2 separate regions of the Homo sapiens genome follow, and region 1 is linked to region 2. Evidence: promoter capture Hi-C in human tissues and cell types (Jung and others, 2019). All regions are on one chromosome and are shown on one strand. The core of a region is centred on a gene start or on the middle of the fragment in contact, and the rest is flanking DNA. Distances in the headings are between cores, read along the strand shown. Region 1 overlaps LOC102723490 (a long non-coding RNA gene). Region 2 holds the start of SERTM1 (serine rich and transmembrane domain containing 1).

What was found. Contacts are between HindIII fragments. The study calls those that stand out against the background at their distance.
Region 1: a contact is called between a fragment that was not itself captured here and the fragment with the promoter of SERTM1 in region 2, in 1 of the 25 tissues and cell types used here (hippocampus).

What each region holds. Positions count from the first base shown.
Region 1 is chr13:36,732,988-36,739,054 of GRCh38, reverse strand. All of the region lies in intron 3 of LOC102723490 (a long non-coding RNA gene), which reads left to right. Among named protein-coding and RNA genes, the nearest start is that of SERTM1, 62 kb to the right of the region's middle. The HindIII fragment of the contact is 3,554 bases long and covers 2,170-5,723 here.
Region 2 is chr13:36,672,435-36,678,788 of GRCh38, reverse strand. SERTM1 (serine rich and transmembrane domain containing 1) reads right to left here and starts at 4,769. Exons shown (of 2, transcript NM_203451.3): 1 at 4,605-4,769. LOC102723490 (a long non-coding RNA gene) reads left to right here. Exons shown (of 7, transcript XR_001749825.2): 7 at 3,362-3,444. The HindIII fragment of the contact is 7,784 bases long and covers 1-6,354 here.

The sequences.
Region 1 (6,067 bases), core at 2,697-5,196, 61 kb before region 2:
CAAGCATCCCAGTACAACACTTAAATGCTATCCAAACCTTAGATAAAACAAAATATGATTTTGATCAGTCATAATGAATTAGTAAAATGTCAGTCTGTGTTATTTTCAAATGAGATAGGAAATGCATAATGGCTGGTAAATTGCCTTTCATTAGAAAACCACAGAATAAAACTGTAAGCTTTTTCTAAGTATTTATTTCTGAATTTACATAGTTTTGATATATTTACCAACCATGCTTATGCTTCCTGAGTTATTAAATAGATAAGCTGCTTTACAGAATGAACCAAACTATAAACCAATTAAACTTTACTAAGGGGCAAAATTCCCTGCATTTTTCTATGTTTTTGAGTTTCATGGCTGTGTGACTATCCCACTCTCCCCATCCTATCAACCTTCATTTATTGAAGATTTTGCCATCTAATTCACAGAAGGCCTGGCTTCCAGAACTCCTGCCATAATTATAGATAGTATTAATATTCTGGTGAAGAATCCATCCAGACTTTAACTTGGTCTCCTTAACGTTTCACTTTTACTTCTATTCTACATGAGCTATCCATCCTCAACTTCATTCTCACCAAGAACAACTTCATTTCTGAAGTTGCAAAGGTCAATATGAAAATAACCTGTGACCACAGCCTTTTGGTTCTCCAGCTTTTACCCACCATGCCCAGCGAGTCCTTTGGTTCCCAAGCTCCCATTCCCCTCATTGCTTCGCTTCCTTCTATTCCATCCCTGGCTAGAAACGAGGGAGCATCTCTCAAACTGTTCTCCTGCCTGGGCCTTCATTTCTGCCAGTGGTATCACCCTGCTGTGTTCTGACCATGGTTAATGTAAAACTGGCCTTTTCTGTCCCTTGAAGCAGGTACTGAATGTTGTTGGAGGAAATCACAGGTCGTTGTCACCACATACTTTTGGTCTCCAATCTCAGTGAAATGCTCAAAGCTATCCTTTGGCGATTCTCCAGGGAACAGCCTCTTGCTTTCTTCCCAGGGATTCTTCCCTCTTCCTTAAGCCCCAACCTCCCTGATGACATTTCCTTTCTCTCGGCAGATGACACTGCCTCATGCTTCATTCACAGTGAAAGGCAGACGCTTTCAGGCACAAATATCACCACTTCTATTCCTCAGGGTTCCTGCTTTTCCCGTGAGGCCACTTGGTGGACACATATACTGAGATCTCAGCTAGACAGAAGGGATTTGTATTTAACTGAGGCAGAGTCAGGGTCATTATATCAGGATGTCGGAAAACATCTTTTTGCAGCTACCTTTGTTCTGTTTCATAGCAACTAGCTTTCCAGCTCACAGATAATGAAAATCAGGACTGGGTAAGAGAGTGGGTTATTTACTCCACGGGTATTTGTTGAGCACACATTATGGAAATAGCCCTTAGGCCCCATGGACCCAATGATATCAACAGTGTCTCATTCACGTTTCATAGATGCTAACTGAATGAGTGAATTAGATAAATGAATGAACAAATGTGGTAAACAATCCCTGAAGTGAAGTAATGAATGAAAAATTAAGTGCAAGTTGAGTATCCCTTATCTAAAATGCTTGTGACTGTGTTTCAGATTTCAGTATTTTCAGATTTTGAGTATTTGCATATACGTAATATCTTGGAGATCGGACTTAAATCTAAACACAAAATTTATTTACATTTCATATACACCTTATATGCATAGCCTGAAGGTAATTTTATATGATATGTTTAATATTTTGTGCATAAAACAAAGCTTGTGCTAAGTACTTATGTGTGGAACTTTCTGCTTGTGGTGTCAAGTCAGTGCCCAAGAACATTCAGATTTTGGAGCGTTTCAGAATTTGGGTCTTCAGATTAGGCATGCACAACCCGTATAAGATGCGTAAGAAATTTTTCTGCTCAGAAGGAGCATATACTCTAATTTAGAAATACCTTAATATGACATTATATAATAAAGTTTTGAAATGTGTGGAATTAAAAATTAGAGACAAGATAATGTATAAGAAGGTGCTAATTATATAGTCCAGGCAGGGTAATTCAGGCAGAAAAGTTCTTTTTCCTTTTTTAATACAGGAGAGATCACATTATTCAGCTTTGCATTTTCTAGGTTCACAATATATCTCAGGAAAGAGAAAGAATAAATACTTCATGTTGCTAGAGAAAGGGGATGTTGGACCATGAAATTTAAGGCAATATAGAAAGAAAAAGGGAATTTCTTCTAGAGAGCACGGCTAAAGGAAGACCATAAAAAAGGCAATGTGAAAATTGTGGGCAGTGAAAATTGTATCTGGGGAATGACAAGATCAGTTTACCTTGTCCATCAAATTTGATAGATAGAACGTGTGTGTGTGTGTGTGTGTGTGTGTGTGTGTGTGTGTTACAGAAATTCCAACTTAGGGACTAGTTTGTTAGAAATTTAGTAATACTATTGGGACCCACCTTAGAGCACAGTTATGATGGTGCACTCATATTGGAAGAAAAACACTTTTGCTTATGATTATATCCTGGGAGCTTGCAAGAATAAGTCATCTATTCTTGTTCAATAGTTAGTAAAGAGTTGATGTCCCTAATAATTACACAGAAAACTTGCAGAGCCTCTTTCGGATGCGAGCTGATGCCCTAAAAGCTTTGGGACATATAAATATTTACAAGAAAATCTCAGGGTGGGCAAATGAAGGCATGCATAAGCAGTTTGTAACACATAAAAACTCGATTTATAAATATTTCATGTTAATATGTGGTCACCACCAGGGGGCGAATTCCTTTCCACTTGCAAAAATAGCTGCCAGAGGAAAGGAAAACTGCTTCCACCAGAGCTGGTGGAGAACAAAAATCCCTTCTCTGCTTTACAGAGTCATAGAAGATAGTGAAGGTCTCCTCTTTTGCCAGGGGTAGGTTTATATAGGTTTCTAACATTAATTGCATTTCCCCCATAAAAATGTCATAAATAATGGTTAGGTTTGCAGGATGATTCCAAAAGCAAAAAATTAAAATATATTTTAATACTTTTAAAAAGCCACATATACACACATATATGAATGTATTTATATGAATATAGATAATTATGTATAACATAAAATTATTTATAATTTTATGGAAAATTTTATTTGCCTAAGTACAAACTTTCAGAACTCAACGCATTTATATGAGAATGCCTATTCTTTCAAGGCATTAAATAAATGCCAAATGAACAGCGGGTATGTAGTCACCCTTAAATATTTTCCTATCTTCTTAAATGTAGAATTACTTATTAAAGAAACAATAAAGAATTGCCAATACATTTCAAGATAACCTATTTTTTCCTTTTATGAAGGAATAAGTGTTTAGCTTTCTTTTTGCAGCTTGATAAAAAGAGACTAGCCTCCTCGCCTTCATCCCCATCCCCAAGCACTTGATCGCCATTGTCTGAGACTAAATTATAAATGTTCCAGCTAAAGTTAATAGTGAGCTGTGCTGTGCTTATCAAACAGCTTCAGGCTCTGCCAATACCCTCTGTACTACAAACACAAAGGGACATTCATTATATGTCAATTTTTTCAGCCTAATTTGCTCCCAAAGCTATCACAGGTAGAAATTACTGTTATTAGTATCATCTTCAAACAGGAAAGACAGACGGTATTAGCAAGGTCCTTTACCTGTTTTGTAGCAGTGCTTTGACATTACTGCTCAGTGTGACCAATGTCTGTGGCCCTCCCTTCCCATGGAGACCCTGCCCTTTGCAGATTTCAAAATCAGTCTGGTACCTCCCTCCACTTAGAGCCAGTTGGGTTATAAGCCACTAATGAGTATTTTGTTCCTTCTTAAGCAAACAGAAGAAACATAGTTCTCATCCATCTGCTATGGACTGAATTTTACCTCCCTAAATTCATATGTCAAAGCTCTAACCCCCAATGCATTTGGAGATGGGGGCTCTGGGTGATCTTTAGGTTTAGATGAGGTCATAAAAGTGGGCCTCCTGATGGATTATGTCCTCATGAGAAGAGGAAGAGGCCTCAGAGCTTGCTCTCTGCCATGTGAGGACACAGCAAGAAGTGTACCATCTGCCACCAGGCAGGTAGCCTTCACCAGAACCTGACCATGATGGCTCCAGGATCTCAGACTTCCAGCCTCCAGAACCGTGAGGACTAAGTGTCTGTTGTTAAGCCACCCAGTCTACGGCATTTGGTTAAGGCAGCTAAGACAATAATATCTGTAATATCTCAGATCAACTTTTTTCCTTCAGTATATGTTTAGTAGGAAGCATTAGACACATGAAACCCTATTCGTGTAAGGAGTACTACTTCACTATGAAGAGTGACTCATCATCCAATCTGGAGCTCTCAATTAGGCATGATAAAATTGGCTGCAGGCAGAACCTCCAATGGGTCAAGGGGCAGCCTGAAATTGTATCAGTGTTGTATAAAAGTGCATTTTTGCAGGGAGGCAACTAGAGCGTCCTCAAATTTTCTGGTTAGAGTCCCTATGAAGTTTAACAGCCACTTATCTAGATTTGTTTCTCCTCTGACTTTTTGTTTTTCTCATTGAGCTGACATCTGATAAAGAGTATCAACTCTAGGATTATAAACATTGGGGTTGAAAGCTTGATTTCTTTGCCACTTAATAGCTGTGTAATAAGGGCAAGTTTCTTTATTTCTTTCTTTATCACGCAGTTTCCTCACATGTTGTATTGGCTGTTCTTGCATTGCTATAAAGAAATACCTGGGCCGGGTGTGGTGGCTCACGCCTGTAATCCCAGCACTTTGGGAGGCCGAGGCAGGTGGATCACGAGGTCAGGAGATAGAGACCATCCTGGCTAACACGGTGAAACCCCGTCTCTATTAAAAATACAAAAAATTAGACGGGCATGGTGGTGGGCACCTGTAGTCCCAGCTACTCGGGAGGCTGAGGCAGGAGAATGGTGTGAACCCAGGAGGCGGAGCTTGCAGTGAGCCGAGATGGCGCCACTGCACTCCAGCCTGGGCGACAGAGCAAGACTCTGTCTCAGAAAAAAAAAAAAAAAAAAAAAGAAATATCCGAGACTGGGTAATTTATAAAGAAAAGAGGTTTAATTGGCTCACAGTTCACAGGCTGTACAGATAGTATAGAACTGCCATCTGCTTCTGATTAGGCCTCAGGGAGCTTGTACTCATGACAGAAGGTGAAGGGGGAGCAGGCACGTCACATGGTGAGAGCAGGAGCAAGAGAAAGGTAGGGGGAGGTGCCACACACCTTTAAGCAACCAGATCTCATGTGAACTCACTTATCACCAAGGGATGGCCTAAGCCACTCATCAGGGATCCACCCCCATGATCCAAACACTTCCCACCAGGCCCCACCTCCAACATGAGGGTCTACATTTCAACATGAGACTTGAGTGGGGACAAACATCCAAACTATATCACCTGTGAAATGGAGTGTTAACTAATTCCAACCTACAGGGCAGGTGGGATTTTCAATGAGCTATAACAGGGGTTCTAAAATTTGAGGGTGCATCAGAATCACCTAGAGGGCTTGTTAAACCCCACACTACTGGCTCCCACCCCCAGAATTTCTGACTCGGTGGAGGATGAAGCCTGAGGATTGGCATGTCCGACCAGTTCCATGGTGATGCTCAGTGAGTCCATGAGCAACGCTGCTGGTCTAAAGACCACACTTTCAGAACCACAACTTTCCTCCTGAAACACTCATGGAAACCTGGCCCTCGTGATTTATTTGTCTGTTTCTTTGCCTGATACCTGGATAAATCCTTCTGTTGCTCTGTGGTGCAACCCTTCATTTCAGTATCCAACATCTGAAGTTCCAGCTCAGACCTTCTGAGCCAGCAAGACTGCTGGGTTCAGTCTGACCTCACTGGTAAAGAACAGAGTGGGTTTTCAATGTCTAATAGAAATACACTGCATGGCACATGTAATTCTAAATTTTCTAGAGGCCACGTTAAAAAAAGACTAGTAAAATGAATTTTAGTTACATATTTTATTTAACCTAATATATCATCAATGATAGGATATTATCATATTAACATATTAACGATATGGACATTATTAATAAAATATTTTTCTTTTTTTGAACAGTCTTAGAAATCTGGTATGTTCTGGTATGTATTTTACCT
Region 2 (6,354 bases), core at 3,520-6,019:
AAATGTCCATGAGTCAAAGATTAGTTAAATAAATGACAGAAGAGTCACACAGTGGAGTCTCTTGATCCTCTTATATTAAAAAGGACTATATTTTATATATATATATATAAATTTTATTTTATTTTAAGTTCCAGGATACATGTGCAGGACGTGTAGGTTTGTTACATAAGTAAACATGTGCCATGGTGGTTGGTTGCACCTATCATCCCATCACATAGGTATTAAGCCCAGCATGCATTAGCTAATTTTTCCTGATGCTCCCTCCCACCACCCCACCCCAACAGGCCCCAGTGTGTGTTGTTCCCCTCCCTGTGAAAAAGGACCGTATTTTCTAACATGAAAAGATGCTGAACATCTATGACTAAGTCAAGAAAGTAACCTTCATGATAGTGTATACTATGATTCCATTTTTTGTAAAACAACAACTACTACTGCTACTACTATTATACACACATATATTTTAGATGCAAAAACAACAAAACAAAACAAGAGGTTATATACCAAGCTGTTAACATATGTTTTTGTTAGAGGGTAGTATTATGGGGGCATGTTAACATTCTATTTTGTGCATTTCTGTATCTATATTTTGACAAAAAGAATGTGTATTGACATCAGAAAAAATAATAAAGGTATTTTCATTAAGAAATAGAAATAAAATTTGATTATAGCATATGCCATGAAAATACTGCTGGTTTTTAAGCCCAGGACTTGTTTTTTCTCTTCCTGCTCCTCCTTCTCCCCTCTTTTTCTGTACTGTCTATACTTAACACAAACCTTTGAAATGGTTCATTTCTACCATTTTTTTTTCAAAGTTTGACTCTCAGGCTGATGCCAGAAAGTCAATCTTCCTAACAGGGGTTAAATGTACTTGGAGGTAGCATTGCATTTTACAGGATGTTGTCAATGTTCTGCTTAAGAAATGAGAATAGTATATCCCTCTGATATAATCCTGGTCACAAGGAAATTGAAGGTGAATAAGGACCAAGCCAGTTTAACTGGCAACAGTTGATAGATTACCAGGTACTTCTAATCAGCACCAGACTACCCTAGCAAGTTAACCAGGAAAGCTGCTATATTGGCCTCCCCTGGGAAGTGAATCTATACGTTGAATGTTCCCTGAATGAAGTTAATTAGTGTTTTAACTGTGGTTTCAGTCATCTTCCAGTCTCTCTTAATTTGAAACTGATTCTTATAGCCACCTATCCTTCTGCTTCCCATCAGAAGTTGGATTCAGGTCTGTTACCTTCTTAAGTGACCCTTTTAACAATTATTAGAGGCTTACATTTTCCAGACCCTTCCAGATTAACAATATCAACATCAAGAATCAAAGTACAAATTGTAGACCTAGACTGACTAATTTCCTGTCTTAATATAGCTTAATAGTTGGGAATTTAAAAGTTAGGAACTCAGAAAATATTAGTGATGTACCCCATTTCTGATGGAAATGTGGAGGTTTGTCATTGGCACTGTTTTGGCTGGATTACGCTACTTCATGCTTAGAGATATGTTAAAGTGTGTACGGCTGTTTGACGGCTCAGACATCTTTTATCTTTTTTTTCTTTTTCCAAAAAAATTTCCAAAGTTAGTAAAGGCTAAATAATGACTATTTCCTATATCCATAAGGAACTCGTGAAGGACGCATTTTATGTCATGAGACTGAGCATGAAGACGTTGTATCCTAGGGATACATCTGCCACAAATCAGAATCAGAACAGAAGGGACCACAGAATTTGGCCCAGTAGACTGTTGCCCGGCTCCTGAAATGGCCCGTGAATGCACAGATGGACTTCCTGAATTCTAAATCAAAGGTTGGGCCACATATGCATACCAAGGGCATCTTCATCTAAGCCTCTGGCTTGAATCCTCTAGGCACACATGTTGGCTAAAAGGAATCCTGCCAACTCGTGGGCTTAAAGCTTGAACTTCTTCCTTGTTGGCTTCCCTATTCCATTAACTAATTTAAAGCCTTTATTATTATTATTTTTAGCTCTCATTATAAACAATCATGAAATCTATAAAAATTAGGTCTATAATACTTTGTATTAATATACTAATATAATATAATAGCCTCCACAAGTAGATATTTGAAGAAAACAACATTCTTCTGTGGCACTACTTTTTGGCTTTTAGTTTCATTTAACAAATATTTACTGAATGGCTTATGGGTACCATGAGCCAGGCAAGTGGGACCTACACAGTGCCTGGCATCCAGGGCCATTCAGAAATGTATTTTTTCAGATTCTTAAATTACTACTTTAAAAACTCAGATGAACAAAACACAAAAATTCAGCCATAATTTTATTTTTCACTTCTTCATTATAACTAATTAAGTATAAAAATGCTCGTACAAACTGTACAAACTTTAAACAAAAAAAGGACCCCCCAAAAATGTTGTAATATAAGTATAGGGAGAAGAGTAAGCCAGAGAAGAACGATCATCAAATGAGCTCAGACTTTATCTAGTATAGAGGCTGAATCAGAATTTTGCCTGTGATGAGTTAGTCTTTCTTTTTTATAATGAACGTATAACTCCAAGTTTGCTTAAAGGTTAGTATGGTTGGTCATTCTTACAAATCAGCTCTGTCATTCTTCATCTGCCCTCACTAAAAAAGAACAAGAAAAAAGAAAAAGAAACCCAGGAAACCTGCAAATAAACTCTCTCGTGGATTTGATGCCACATGCAATCACACAGTTATTTATATCTTAACCCCTGATGTGCTTGTCCAAATCGTAGACATCTAGTAAAATCTGTTGAACTGAACGAACTAACAGCAAGGGAGAATGGACTCAATCTTACCTTACAACAGGTTTCTTTAATGAGAACAATAAATGTGTGCGTTCAGCTCTTCAAAGCACTTTGCCTTATATAGAGGAATCAAAAATAATAAGCCCCTCAAAGCCAAAACACAAAAATGGAATATCCCACCCACGTGCTGGATCTCAATATTTCCAGATTACTTCTGAGGTTGGCAGAGGCTTCGGCGGCCCTACGATGTCCAGCATTTAAAGGTGACTAGGGCATGGGCTGAGGGAGGCTCTGAGACCAGGCAGCCTCACTCACAAGCCCTCCAAAAGGCAATTTGCTTTACAGATCAACTAAAAACGGTGTTCTGAGTGTGGTGGTGGCGGGGGAAAAGACACTACTCTACTTAGTAAAATGAAGAGAATTTAGTTACAAAAAAGATATTTAAGAACCTCTATGGGCATGATCACAAATAAGCTGAGACACCCAGACTAGTTGTATAATTCAGCAAATTAAATATTGTTTTTTTCAGAGGGTGCATGGGGCTCCGCAAGACTGCATTAAGAGACAAACCCTTTAAGAAAAGACTGTCACTTGTGCCTCTTTTCCTGTTGACAGGCTGTTGTCTGAACAATGAATCCTGGAAGCACCTAGGAGAAGGCACCTAGGAGAAACGTCTTAGGGAGTAGTCCCGCGGGTCCGCCCCAGGACAGTAACGCTGTCAGTTTCCCCGCCCTTTGCACCTGTAGTGCAGACGGTACCAAATGCGATGGCTTTGAGACGTCCTCTAGACATCGGAGCCCATCATTTACCACAAAGAACACTGAAGTACTTACTTTAGCAGAACATTTTCCGAAGAAAAATTAACAGGGAGAGGAAATGAAGGACACTAACAAACAGACCCCATCTCTAGAGTCTGAGATCAAACCCAAGTCCGATGGAGCCCGGGCATCTGGTGGAGGAAAGCGGGCAGGCATAGCCCCAATCCTGGTCCTCAACAAGATATTTCTGTGAATGAATCCCTCTGCTCCCTGGAGGAGGGCACATTACATATCCCTTTCCTAAATCAGAACTGAAGCAATTTGCCCATCATTCGCACACCTCGACAGGGAAAGGCAGGATTCCAGTGTCTCATCAGACCCGGGAAGAGGGGAAGGGTCGCTGGCGCAGTTACCTACTGGGTTTCCGGGAGCTAGGGAAAACGCCCCTGGGAAACGCAAGTGTTCAGCGCCACATAAAACTTCCCCGGATTTAGGGCCACCCTAAGACGGGCGAAAAGACTCTCCAGCGCCTTAGCAGGTGCAAAGCCAGCTGTCAGTGTGCGCATGGCGAGTCCCCGTTCCCGAGAAGGGACGCAAATGACCCTAGAAAATCAGACAGGAGCAAAACAAACCCAAGAATGACCCTCCACACACCACAAAGGCAAAAGCAAACAGAAGGCACCTAGACACACTCTGCAAAGTGTAGAACTGTCTACACTTGCATGGAGGAATCCACCTTGCAGAGCGAGGGTAGACCTTCCCGGTTCCCAGTGTCTGGGACCGAGGCAGGTCAACACGGGGCCAAGGACATTGCACTCAGGGCCCCTCGCGGCTCCTCCTGCAGCCCGTGGAGTCACCCCAAGACTCGGAGAGCCGGGCTGCGATTGCTTCTCGGGACAGTAAGGACACCTCAAAAGGGATAGATTTGGGGGTGTTTCTCAGAAAGGAGCCACATCTCCGGGAGCCCAGATCTCGGGGGAGAGTCTGGGAGGCGGCTCGCCTCCAGGACCCGAGGCCGCCCCAGGCAAGGAGTGGGGCGCTCTCCGCGTAGGGCAAGTTCACCCCCAGAGCTCGGGACCCTGCAAGTTTCCCTCACTGACCTGCAGGTCAGGACACGCGACTTCCCCGGCAGGTCTCCTGCGCTAGCGGTGGGGCGGTGCTCCGGTCTGGACGATACGCGCCCGCGAAGCCGTCCTCGGGAATGTTGGGCGCAGCGGCGCGGCGCGCAGTCTGGGCGCACGGCGGACAGCAGGCGCAGCGGGAGTGGATCCGGGCTGCCGGCCCCGCACAGCCCGCGCGTCGTCCCTCCGCCCCTCCTGGCCGCACAACCAATGGCCGCGAGCGGGTCCCACTCCTCACCGCCCCCTAGTCTCGGCTCTAGCGGGCGCTTGGCTCTAGGACGGCGCCCAGCTCGGGCGAGGGAGGAGCTTGCGCCACCATTGGAAAATCTCGGAGGACGAGGAGGCGTTGCGCAGGGAGCCCATCTGGGGAAGGCAGGTGTAGTGGGTGAACTTTTTTGTGTGTCGGGGGGAGGAGGGGGGAGTGGGGAGGAGGGCAGTTTTTTTAGGGCTCAGGGGCCTTTCTCTGCAGATGAAAGCATCCACTTCTTGCCAACTTTCTCCTCCTCTTACATCTTTTATGAGTTCCTCGCAGCCCCCACCCAAAACAACTACTCTGGGTGCATCATCGCAAGCCCAGCTCTGACTGAGTTGCGTGGGGCATGGCCTCATCCTGTGATGAGCTTAACCACAGACAGCCCTTGCTCAGCCTTCGCCGCGTGCGCCTCTGAATCCTATACCAAATCATTAAATGAGTCGAATAGGATTGGAGTTTCTGTCATTGCCAGGGAGACAGTCAGTCATGAGTCCCTACTAGGGAACTGGCGTAGAGAGTCATATATCGTAACAGAACTCCGGAAAAGGAGGCTTTAACTGATCCGACCAACTTCAGTTACCAGTCAGTGCTGCTACCTTGACCAGAAGACTCTCTCTCTGTATTCCTGTTTTTCAGCTGGAAAATGAGAGACTTCGATCACTTGGTGGCTGCGGTCTGTTTCACTCTGACATTCAACAATATTGTTGCTCTGTGGCCTGTAAAGGGCTGAACTCCTGGGAAGTGTTGGTGTGGCTACCTGTTCCTTGAGCCCCTACTCCATCTGGTTCTGCTGTCTTCACCGTGAGACCTATTAGTGGCCAGAAAAGCAAATCATGCACAATACAGAATCAGGCCACCCAAGTCTCAGTGACCACCAACACATGCACGTATACTGCCACCCACCAGGGCCCGGCTCCTAGGAGCCTGCTACTTCCACCCATGTTCAATTGTTCTCCACGTAGAGATAGGCAGGGGCACCTGGCTTAACTCTGAAGCTCCGTGGTACATAAGTAAAGGCTCTCTGTCTCTCCCCTTCCTTCTCTAGGGCAATTGTGGGTGGGTGTGAATCTCTCTTATGTGGATCCTTCTGTGCCTGATGTAAAATGCAGGAGGATGGAATGAGCTGTGTTGTCAAGAGGGCAGATTCAGAGAACCACTTCCCTCCGGGCACACTTGGATTGGCTTCCTGAATTTCACCTGTTCATGTGCCATTCTCATGAGTTACCTTACATCCATCTACAGTCTGCTCCATTATGCACTTAGTAAATTTTACCTTAGATTTTTACTTGGCTTCATCGTAAGCAATAATATCTATGAAATTATTGGTTTGTGAGATACCAGTTGTATTTAATATTTTAATGCACAATGAAATGAAGGCATAAGTCTTCCATGCTAAAATCATTCTGAATATCACTGGTTGTTCTCACAACTCACTTTTTGAAACACTAAGGTGTATGGGGGGGCAGTTAGAACTGT